Regions from separate parts of the Homo sapiens genome. Here region 2 is linked to region 1. The links are contacts of gene promoters, found by promoter capture Hi-C in human tissues and cell types (Jung and others, 2019). All regions are on one chromosome and are shown on one strand. The core of a region is centred on a gene start or on the middle of the fragment in contact, and the rest is flanking DNA. Distances in the headings are between cores, read along the strand shown. Region 1 holds the start of TBX15 (T-box transcription factor 15). Region 2 has its middle 65 kb from the start of SPAG17.

The links. Contacts are between HindIII fragments. The study calls those that stand out against the background at their distance.
Region 2: a contact is called between a fragment that was not itself captured here and the fragment with the promoter of TBX15 in region 1, in 2 of the 25 tissues and cell types used here (H1 embryonic stem cells and mesendoderm cells).

Annotation. Positions count from the first base shown.
Region 1 is chr1:118,984,935-118,989,592 of GRCh38, reverse strand. It overlaps TBX15 (T-box transcription factor 15), which reads left to right and starts at 1,250. Exons shown (of 8, transcript NM_001330677.2): 1 at 1,250-2,002. The coding sequence starts at 1,798. RefSeq lists enhancers at 1,317-1,849, 1,850-2,383, 3,703-4,380. The HindIII fragment of the contact is 7,773 bases long and covers 1-4,658 here.
Region 2 is chr1:118,248,581-118,252,653 of GRCh38, reverse strand. No RefSeq gene overlaps it. Among named protein-coding and RNA genes, the nearest start is that of SPAG17, 65 kb to the right of the region's middle. The HindIII fragment of the contact is 5,287 bases long and covers 1-4,073 here.

The DNA.
Region 1 (4,658 bases), core at 1-2,500:
GGCCTCTCAGTCTGTCCCCCGCCCCCGGGACCCAGCTCTTTCCGGCTTCTTTGCAAAAGGATAGAACCGTCTCGACCAGGGCACTAGGACTGGAAGATCGGGCTGTGTCTAGGCCGCTGTCCGCGAAATCCGAGACGTTTTTTCAGCTTGGCTAGGACCGACTTCGCTGCCGGTTTGAGCTTTCTCTGCACTCGGGGGTCTCCTGCCGTCCTCGACCGGTGGCGTAACTTGGGAAGAGGTGTGGGAATTAAGAATGGCCAGGAGCGTTGGATTTTTTAATTCCTTAGAAATCCATGTTGAATGCAGTCCTTAGAGATCGCAAAAGGCAGGGGGCGGCCAGGGGGGAGATCAGCTGGCCGGGAAAGCCATGGTCTTGAGGTAACGGGATTTGCAGGGAATTTTGAAAAAGCTCCTTCTCTTCTGTTAAAGTTCCTAGCTGTTCTTGCCTGTCACCTCTCCATAGGTTCTCTGCAACAAGAGCCCGGAACAGGCGAAGCGCAGCCCAGCGTTCGGGCCGTAGGGAAAGAGAGTATTTGCGGCGTGAGGGGGCCCAGCTGGAATACGCCTGAGGAGCTCGCCCTAAACCCCGCGCTCCGCCGCCCGCCCCTTGCTCTCAAGGCGCCTGTGTCTCCTTCTCCACCAGGTAGAGCTGGAAGGAGGAAGCGGTCTTTGAATTTTCAGTTACAAGACCCTGGTTAGTAACAGGGCTTTCTGTTTGCTTGTTTGTTTGTTTCCTTTTGCCTTACCCAGATTTGCTTAGAAAACGTTCAGTAGGAACATTAAAACCTGTGTGGCGAAATCCAGGAGGAACCAGAATATTCTAAAGCACCTAGGGGCTGACGCGAAATTATCAGAATCGTTTTCTGGCATTTTGGACAGGTTAACATTTTGTCAGAGCCCCAAAATTCCAGATCTGCAACTAAAGTGACTCTGGACTTGCAGCGTCTATGAGACCAGCAGATCTGGAAGAAAAACGTATGGATTTGGGATTTGCAGGAGTTTGTAAAGGCGCAGATCAGACCTCAACTTTCAACTGTCCTACCTCCCTCTTGGAGTAACCCATGGGGAAACCGGGAAGCCAGGGGTTAAAGTCGGCCCAGGAGCATCCAGGGGACGACTGGCGCTGCGCTTTGGCCCGGGCCTCAGTCTCTCCCTTCCTCTCATTGGTTCGCGCTCTCGGAGTTTCTCTTGTTCCCTCCTCGCTATTGGTTGGGGGCTGGCTTTTTTCCCCCTCAGTCTTTTTCTTCCTCCCCCTCCCTCTCCCTCACCCCTCGGACAGGAGCGCACCGCCTGCCCCCTGTTCCTCGGGAAGGGAGGAATTTAGCGGAAAAAAAAGTTTCCCAGAAGTTTGGATCACAGGGAGGACGGGAAGGCAGAGAGGAAGAGAGAGAGAGGGGGAGGAGAGAAAAAGAGAGGGAGGGGAGAGAGAGAGAGAGAGAGAGAGGAGAGAGAATAATAATAATAACAAAAACAAGATGAAGTTCAGTGGACACAGTCTGTGAGCGCCTGCCCCGGTGGGTGGGAAGCAGGACTCGGGCGCTCATGCAGCGAGCGGGCGGCGCTCGGGGCGCTAGTTCCTAGCAGCTGGGCCAGCGTAGGGGCGCAGGTCGGATCCGGCAGAGGAGGGCGGAGGAGGACGCAGGGGGAGGGTGGAGAGACCCGCGAGCCGCAGTCTCAGCCTCGTCCGACGCGCCTCCGCCTCTCCCGGGCCGGGCCCGGTGGGCGCTCAGAGCTTGAGGGCGCCGGCTGCTCCCTCGGTAGCGGGGGCAAGCGGAGGCAGGGGTGTGGGCGGCTAAAATGAGTGAAAGGAGAAGATCTGCAGTCGCCCTGAGCTCGCGAGCACATGCCTTCTCCGTTGAAGCCTTGATCGGCTCAAATAAAAAACGGAAACTGCGAGACTGGGAGGAGAAGGGGCTGGACCTGTCTATGGAGGCGCTGAGCCCCGCGGGCCCACTCGGAGACACGGAGGACGCGGCGGCACACGGCCTGGAGCCTCACCCGGGTGAGTGCGTCGCAGCCGACCGCGGGAGGCGGGCGGAGAGGGGACGCCGAAGGGCCAGTCGCCGGTCGCGGGTGAGGAGCTAGGCCCTGCCATTGACGCCCTGCCTTGCCCCAACATAGGTTTCTGTTTCTTCGCGCAAATGCCCTGAGCCTCCCTAAATTCACCGGAACCAATTTTTGGGGCTGGACTGAGCCTTGCATTTTCGTCGCCAGCCTAAGCAAGGAGTCCTGTTTGTTTGCATTTCTTTTTCTTTTGGGTGGAGAGCGCAGCTTTCTGGGTGTCCGTGGATGAAGGGCTGCCGGTCCCTGGGATTGGGAGGGGCGCGGGCCGAAGGCAACGGCGGGAGCCGAGATCTAGGACTCGCTTCTGAGAACTCGGGAGGACTGGCGCGGCGTTCTCCAATCCAATACCTCAGTCTTCGGGGAATGACCAGTTGTCTCATTTAGCCTTCAACCTCGTCCTTGCCTTTCTCCCACCAACTTTTCGATGGTGGAACATAATTATATTTCTACTCCTTTGGCGTTTACGGAAACAAGAATGGATGTTAGACCCCTTACTCCTTGGGTCACTCTTCAGGGCCCACATCTCTGTGTATTTAGGGTGTGGGTACGATTGATTTGTGTCTCAGATCCTACAGTAACCCATGTATATTATGTGCACGGAACATGTAAAAAGCAGGGGGGATGTCATGTCTGTATTTTAACAGAACCCTAGGAGGGGAGAAGCCAACTTTAACGTTTTGTGTTAAGTGCCAAGATTTCAACTGTGCAAAAACAGCCCGGGGGAACAGCTGTTGTCGGAAGAATCTTGAGTGTGCGCGCGCGCACATACAACGCTCGCAACTTGGTTTAGCGGTTTCAGAAGCTTTCCAGCCCGGACTTCTAAAACCATGCTGGAAGGTGCTCCTGCTGAACAGCCAGAGCTGGGGAGTAGACCCCGCTTCACACGCTGACAAGCCCGGGGAGGGGGCAGCGGCCTGCACTGGGATAGAGACGGTCTGGGGCTCAGGAGCTTGGGGATCTCAGCCACAAAGCTGTCCAACTCAGAGGAGGGACAGCTGTCGCTTACATTTTCTCTTTAGGCAGTGACAGTTCAATTTCCATGCTCCCGAGGCTAATAATAATGCGATTAGCGGGTGACCTGCAGAGATAGAGTTTTATGAATTCTCCGTGTTTTTGTGGCCCGTTACGGTATTTGAGTTTAGTGCTGGGGAATTATTTTTATTAGTCGATGAAAAGAAAATTAAAAGGAGATTTATTTCGACCGTCCAAGCCTTTTCCTGTATTTGAATGCAAGTGCTTGTCCACGCGGACCCCTGCGTGGGCATTCCAGAAAGGCACCCAGGGCTACTGTGTGTTTCCCTTCGCTGGCCAGACCCTATTTCCTCAGCTCATTTATCTATTGTCAAAATCTCGCGTGGGCCTTCATACAGTTAGAAGTTCTTGCAGGGGTTATGACGCCTTAGAATTTGTAAGGTTCTTTTATTTTCCCCACGGCGGAAAAAACAGAAGTTGTTTAGCTGCGCGTGGCAGACGTCCTGTCCCGGGGAAGTTTTCTCTTGGGAGGCCCCAGATCGCACGGAGCCCGTCTAGGGCCTTATGTTCAAATGGGTAATACATGGGGTCATAATTAGAGATTCAGATCAGAGTTTGCTCTTTCTGCCGTTCTCCTTAGCCTGAGCTCCATTCAGGAGGCAGAAGAGAGAAAACTTAGGGAATGAGGCAAAAAGAAACCATTCCAGAGCGTGAACCTGGGGAGCTAAGCTCATGAATTCTATTTACTCGCTCCCGCGGGATGGGGGTGGGGTGGAAGATCTAACAGAACTAACTTTATGTAACAGAGTTCGGTTGGTCATTTCCCATTACGTTATCATTTTTTAAAAAAGAAAAAGATGGGTATTTGGATTAGAGAAAACGAAATATATTTGTGGGGCAAGTGTCTAGGAGGAAGAAGCTGAAAGCCCAGCACCCTCTGGCTTTCTGCGGAGCTGGGCTACAGGCCGGGCCTAGCCTTTTAGTGGGCCGGGGGAATCCTTAAGTTGGAGCCCCCGCAATGGCTAAGCCTTTCTTAACGATTTGCTGATAGGATGAGAAAAGATCTTTTAGTAAAAAGGGCGCCGTGGCGTGGAGACGCGGCGGTCCAGGGAGCAGAAGAGGTGGAGCTGTCGGCTCCAGACTCAGGCGGTAGCGAAAGGCGCGACCAGGGCTGGGGGTGTTTTTAGGCCTTTCTTTTTCTGTAATACAGCACCCTAACGAACACACACAGGGACACATTTAAAGATGTGTGTATGGAGGAGTAATGCAGGCGACCCTATTGTGCCCAGGGCAGCGTCTCTTCCCGGGTGAGCCTCATTGTTTTAACTCTTTTGTCCTTAGGGCCCAGAAGCCGCTGCGTGGTTCTCCCGCCCTAGGCCGATAACAAACCGGGAATAGGAAAAAAACAAAAAATTGTTTTGCGGGAAGAATGAAACACACACACACACACAAACACACACGCACACGTTCATGCCTAGAGTATTCTCACCATCTCTCATAGCACCGTTTTTTAGTCCGCTCTGCCGGAGCTTCAAAATTCCGCGATCTTTAGACAACTCTAGGGTCAGATTTTAATGTTTAACTTTCATTCAAAGACGAGGCCTTTTGCTTTTTCACAGCCC
Region 2 (4,073 bases), core at 1,129-3,628, 740 kb after region 1:
TAGTGCACACCTGTCATTATTCTGAAGTTGCCCTTAAGGCATCAATATGAGGCAAACATTGACCCCTTTAATTTTATTTAGTTTTGTAAAATATTTTTAATTTTAATTTTTCTGGGTACATAGTAGGTATGTATAATTATGAGGTCCGTGAGATGTTTTAATATGGGCATGGCATGCACAATAATCACATCACGGAGAATGGAGTATCCATCCCCTCAGCGTTTATCCTTTGTGTTACAAACAATCCAATTATACTCTTGTAGTTCTTTTAAGCCACCCCGAATTTTAGAACAACAGAAATTAAGGCACTAAAAGTAATGATAGTTTGCACAAAGACAGAAAGTGGGGAAAAGTCTAAAACCTGGCTTTCTTGCCTCATAAACCAACTGTCTCTTCCAACCTTACTGCTTCCTGCATTTTCTCTGATGCTTATTCTTGAAACAGCTACATGCTGTTTGAGGCTTACTTTTGTAACTGGCAAGAAGGGAGGAGGATGTTAGCGTCATACCATGCTCAGTAACACACATTAAATTTAATCTTCCTGTGAACCTTTTTTCCTACTTTTATACAATCAGGTTGATAATATTGATAATACTATCTAAGGAGATGACTAAAGCACTCACAAACACAAGCTAGTGCTCACAAATACGGTGTATTAAAATGTAGCACCTTTCTTATATATACATATAATGCTTTCTTATACTCCTATTCTATTAAATCAGTTTTTCAGATCCCCATCCCCTTGTAATAAACGTAGCCTTCTCCTGATTTGAGTCTCCCATAAATGGGAGGCTCAAGCATCAAGGGCTCTAGGATCTGGCAGGGCTCTGAAGAACCATACAAGCTAAGTCCTCCCCTCCACACTGTCCTGGACAAGGCAACAGAGGTCCAGACACTTCACATGGCATGGGAAACGACATGGCCAGTTCCTGTTTTTTGCATCCAGGACTTCCCATAGGAACCCCAGTGTCTGGCATAATAACTTGGAACACTGAGGCAGGACTTGGTGACACACCTGATATTTGTCCTCTTTATTACTGACTGATTAGACACTAAATCCCTATAACCCCGAGGCTTTAGACATCTTTAGAAATGTCTGCATGTTCTTTTGTCACTACACATATTCCTTCATCCTTAGGGGAGCTATACCCATGTAGAAGCAACCAGAGTCATGGTGGTTATGAACACAAGGGAGTTGTAGGGGACCCTTACTGGGACAGATGTGGAGAGCTGAGTGGCTGAGTTTGCTCTTGCTCCTCCTAAGAAGCTGTGTAAGAAAGACCTCCCTCTCTAATGGGTCGGAGAAGGAAATTTGAAGCCTTGCTCCTGGGAAGGTGACGCTCACTCCTCAGACGCTGCACTATCCTCTTCCACAGCAGCTCTGAGAGGCATCATTGTCACAGCTGTATCAGCCCAGCATCAGCACAAACCAGGAGAGGATAAAGAAGCAGGCCATAAGCAGGTCCTCTCCTCTCATTTGCCAAGGGAAGAAAACTGACAGGCATTCCCTGGTGCAGGACAAAGGAGGCATCAGAAGGCCAGGAGCAAGTGGCTCACTCCTGTAATCCCAGCAGTTTTGGAGGCTGAGGCAGGAGGATCACTTACACCCAGGAGTTCGAGACCAGCCTCAGCAAGACCCCATCTCTACAAAAAATAAAAATAAAAAATAGCCAGGAATGGTGGCACATGCCTGTAGTCCCAGCCACTCAGGAGGCTAAGGTGAGAAGGATCCCTTGAGCCCAAGTTCAAGGCTGCAGTGAGTCACGATTGTGCCACTACACTCCAGCCCAGGCAACAGAGTGAGGCCCTAACTTAAAAAAAAAACAACGACAATAAAAAAGTTATAAGTCTAATGTAGCACCATTCTTCCATTGAGCTGGAGAGCTTTGATAGTCATGGAGCTGGGCTACCAAGTTTGTTGTGTTTTATGTATCTGCTCTCAAAATATTTTTGAGAGCTAAGCAGGATTCAAAATTATTATCTTTTTTTGAGGATAAAACAACTAGGAGTGTCTTTCCCCCTTCTCCACTCAGGAAATTCCTCTTAATTCCTTACAATTCAGCTCATTGTTAAGGACCTCTGGGATGCATTGTCAAATTCCCCTACACAATCTTCTGAAAGGAATGAGTCTCTTTCCTGTGTGCTCCCACGACATTTGGCATACTCCTCAGTGGCAGTGCTGTCCGGTGGGGTGCTAATTATTTGCTTTTCAAGGCTATTTCCTCAAACTGTGCTTCTCTCCAGAGCAGGGGTCAGGTTTCCTTTATCTTCGTAGGCTCTTCCCCTCCTCACCCACCTACCTTTACCTCCCTACCTCCAAGTCTAGTTTTAAAGCCTGGCATATCAAAGGTACTGAAAGAACAGGAGAAAGAAATAAAAGAAGGAAAGTTAAGTAGCTTACCCAAAGTCACACAGAAAGTCAGCATCAGAGTTCTGACATTTACTGCAGCACTCAATTCTAAACTAGGCTGTCATCAGGCTGATTTGATGGTTCACAAAGAGTGATATATTTTTAAGAATGATTTTACTACTAAAGAAATGAAGAACATACAGCCCAGGCCAGTAACTTTTTAAGTATGATTAGATGATGGCTTATGGGCTCCATCTAAGCTTTAAATCAGGATCATTTTCAGGTCTAATGGAAATTACATGGTGGCTTTGGCTTCACAGGGAAGGAACTTGGAGCTAATCAGCCTCGGGAATGCCACCATCTGAGATGCCAGGGCAAAAACAAAGAAATGCCATCGATTAAGAGTCTCCATCAAGAAAGTTCCAAGGCTGCGAGGCTGCTGAGATGAGATGGGACTGGAATCCTAGCCACAGGCTTAATTGCTTTGCAAGAAGCCACAGCTGTTGCTGCAGGGAAGCGCAGGCAAAATCTTGTTTTCTTACTTTCAACTTTCTGCTGACCTTGTTAGAGATTGCTTCTGAACTGCCTGATGCCCATGCCTATCTCGAATGGTATTTCTTCAGTGTCTCGTGTCTTCTCTTTGCTTTTCCTTCTATGCCCAGCACTTAATGTAGTGCCCGAAATGTAATACTCACTTGAGAAATACCTGTTTGATTAATTAAGCACAAGAAGAAGAGTTTTAATACCAAATGACAGTTCCCTGTCACCCAAGAGCAGTACCCCTTTACTTTTTGAACCAAGATTCCTCTTAGTCCTTTCACTAGAATATAGGAACATGAAGAAAGGAGAAATAGCATAAAAAACATTGGAATTTTCTTCAGTCTATGACTGTGTCTGCATCAAAATTTTCCACCCATATTCCATGACCAAATCAACTGTTTTTGAGACTTCTTTCTTTTCCTCTTGTAAATGACAAGCAATCCTTGAATAACAAATGACTTATCCCACATTTGTAAACTCTCTGGCCTTTGAAATAGCTAAAATGACCTAAGGCCTAACAGAAGAGTGGCATGTATGGACTTTACCAGAAGTTGGACCCATGGGGTAAGATCTAGAGAGTTATTGGCTTAAGTGGTGTTAAGCAGCCTATGATTGGAAAATGAAATGAAATAGAATCCCCTCATAGAATCAAGAATAGACAGGCCTCATCCTAAAATAAACAGGCCAAAGAAGCATGGGTGGCAATGGCCTAATCCTCAAACCTGTTCTTCCCCCTTTATTTCACTTAGGTTTCCAAACATTTGTTTCTGCCTTCTATCTGTAGCCTTAGATCCAAACATGTTTTAAGACTCTCTACTCTTAACATTAAGCAATCTGCTGAACTCCTTGTAAAACTCAGTACAGTAGGAAAAAGCTCTGGTTCATAATGAAAATTTTTGATGACTTTGGTTCTTCTGTGTTGTGAAAGGATTTCTACCACTTTATACATTTGGAAATTGGGGTCATCTTTTCCTTGTAGATGAAAAAAATACACTCTTTAGTATATTGCATAAATAATGTTTTTGCATTCACTTCACCAGCAATACAAAAATATTTTCTCTCTCTCCTCTGGAGCAAAGAAAATGATTGGTTTCACCTGGGTCCTCTGAGCGCTACGGGAACTCCAGTGGTTCCCAATGCTTTCCTGGACACGATACAGGGGAAACTTAAATAAAAGAAATAT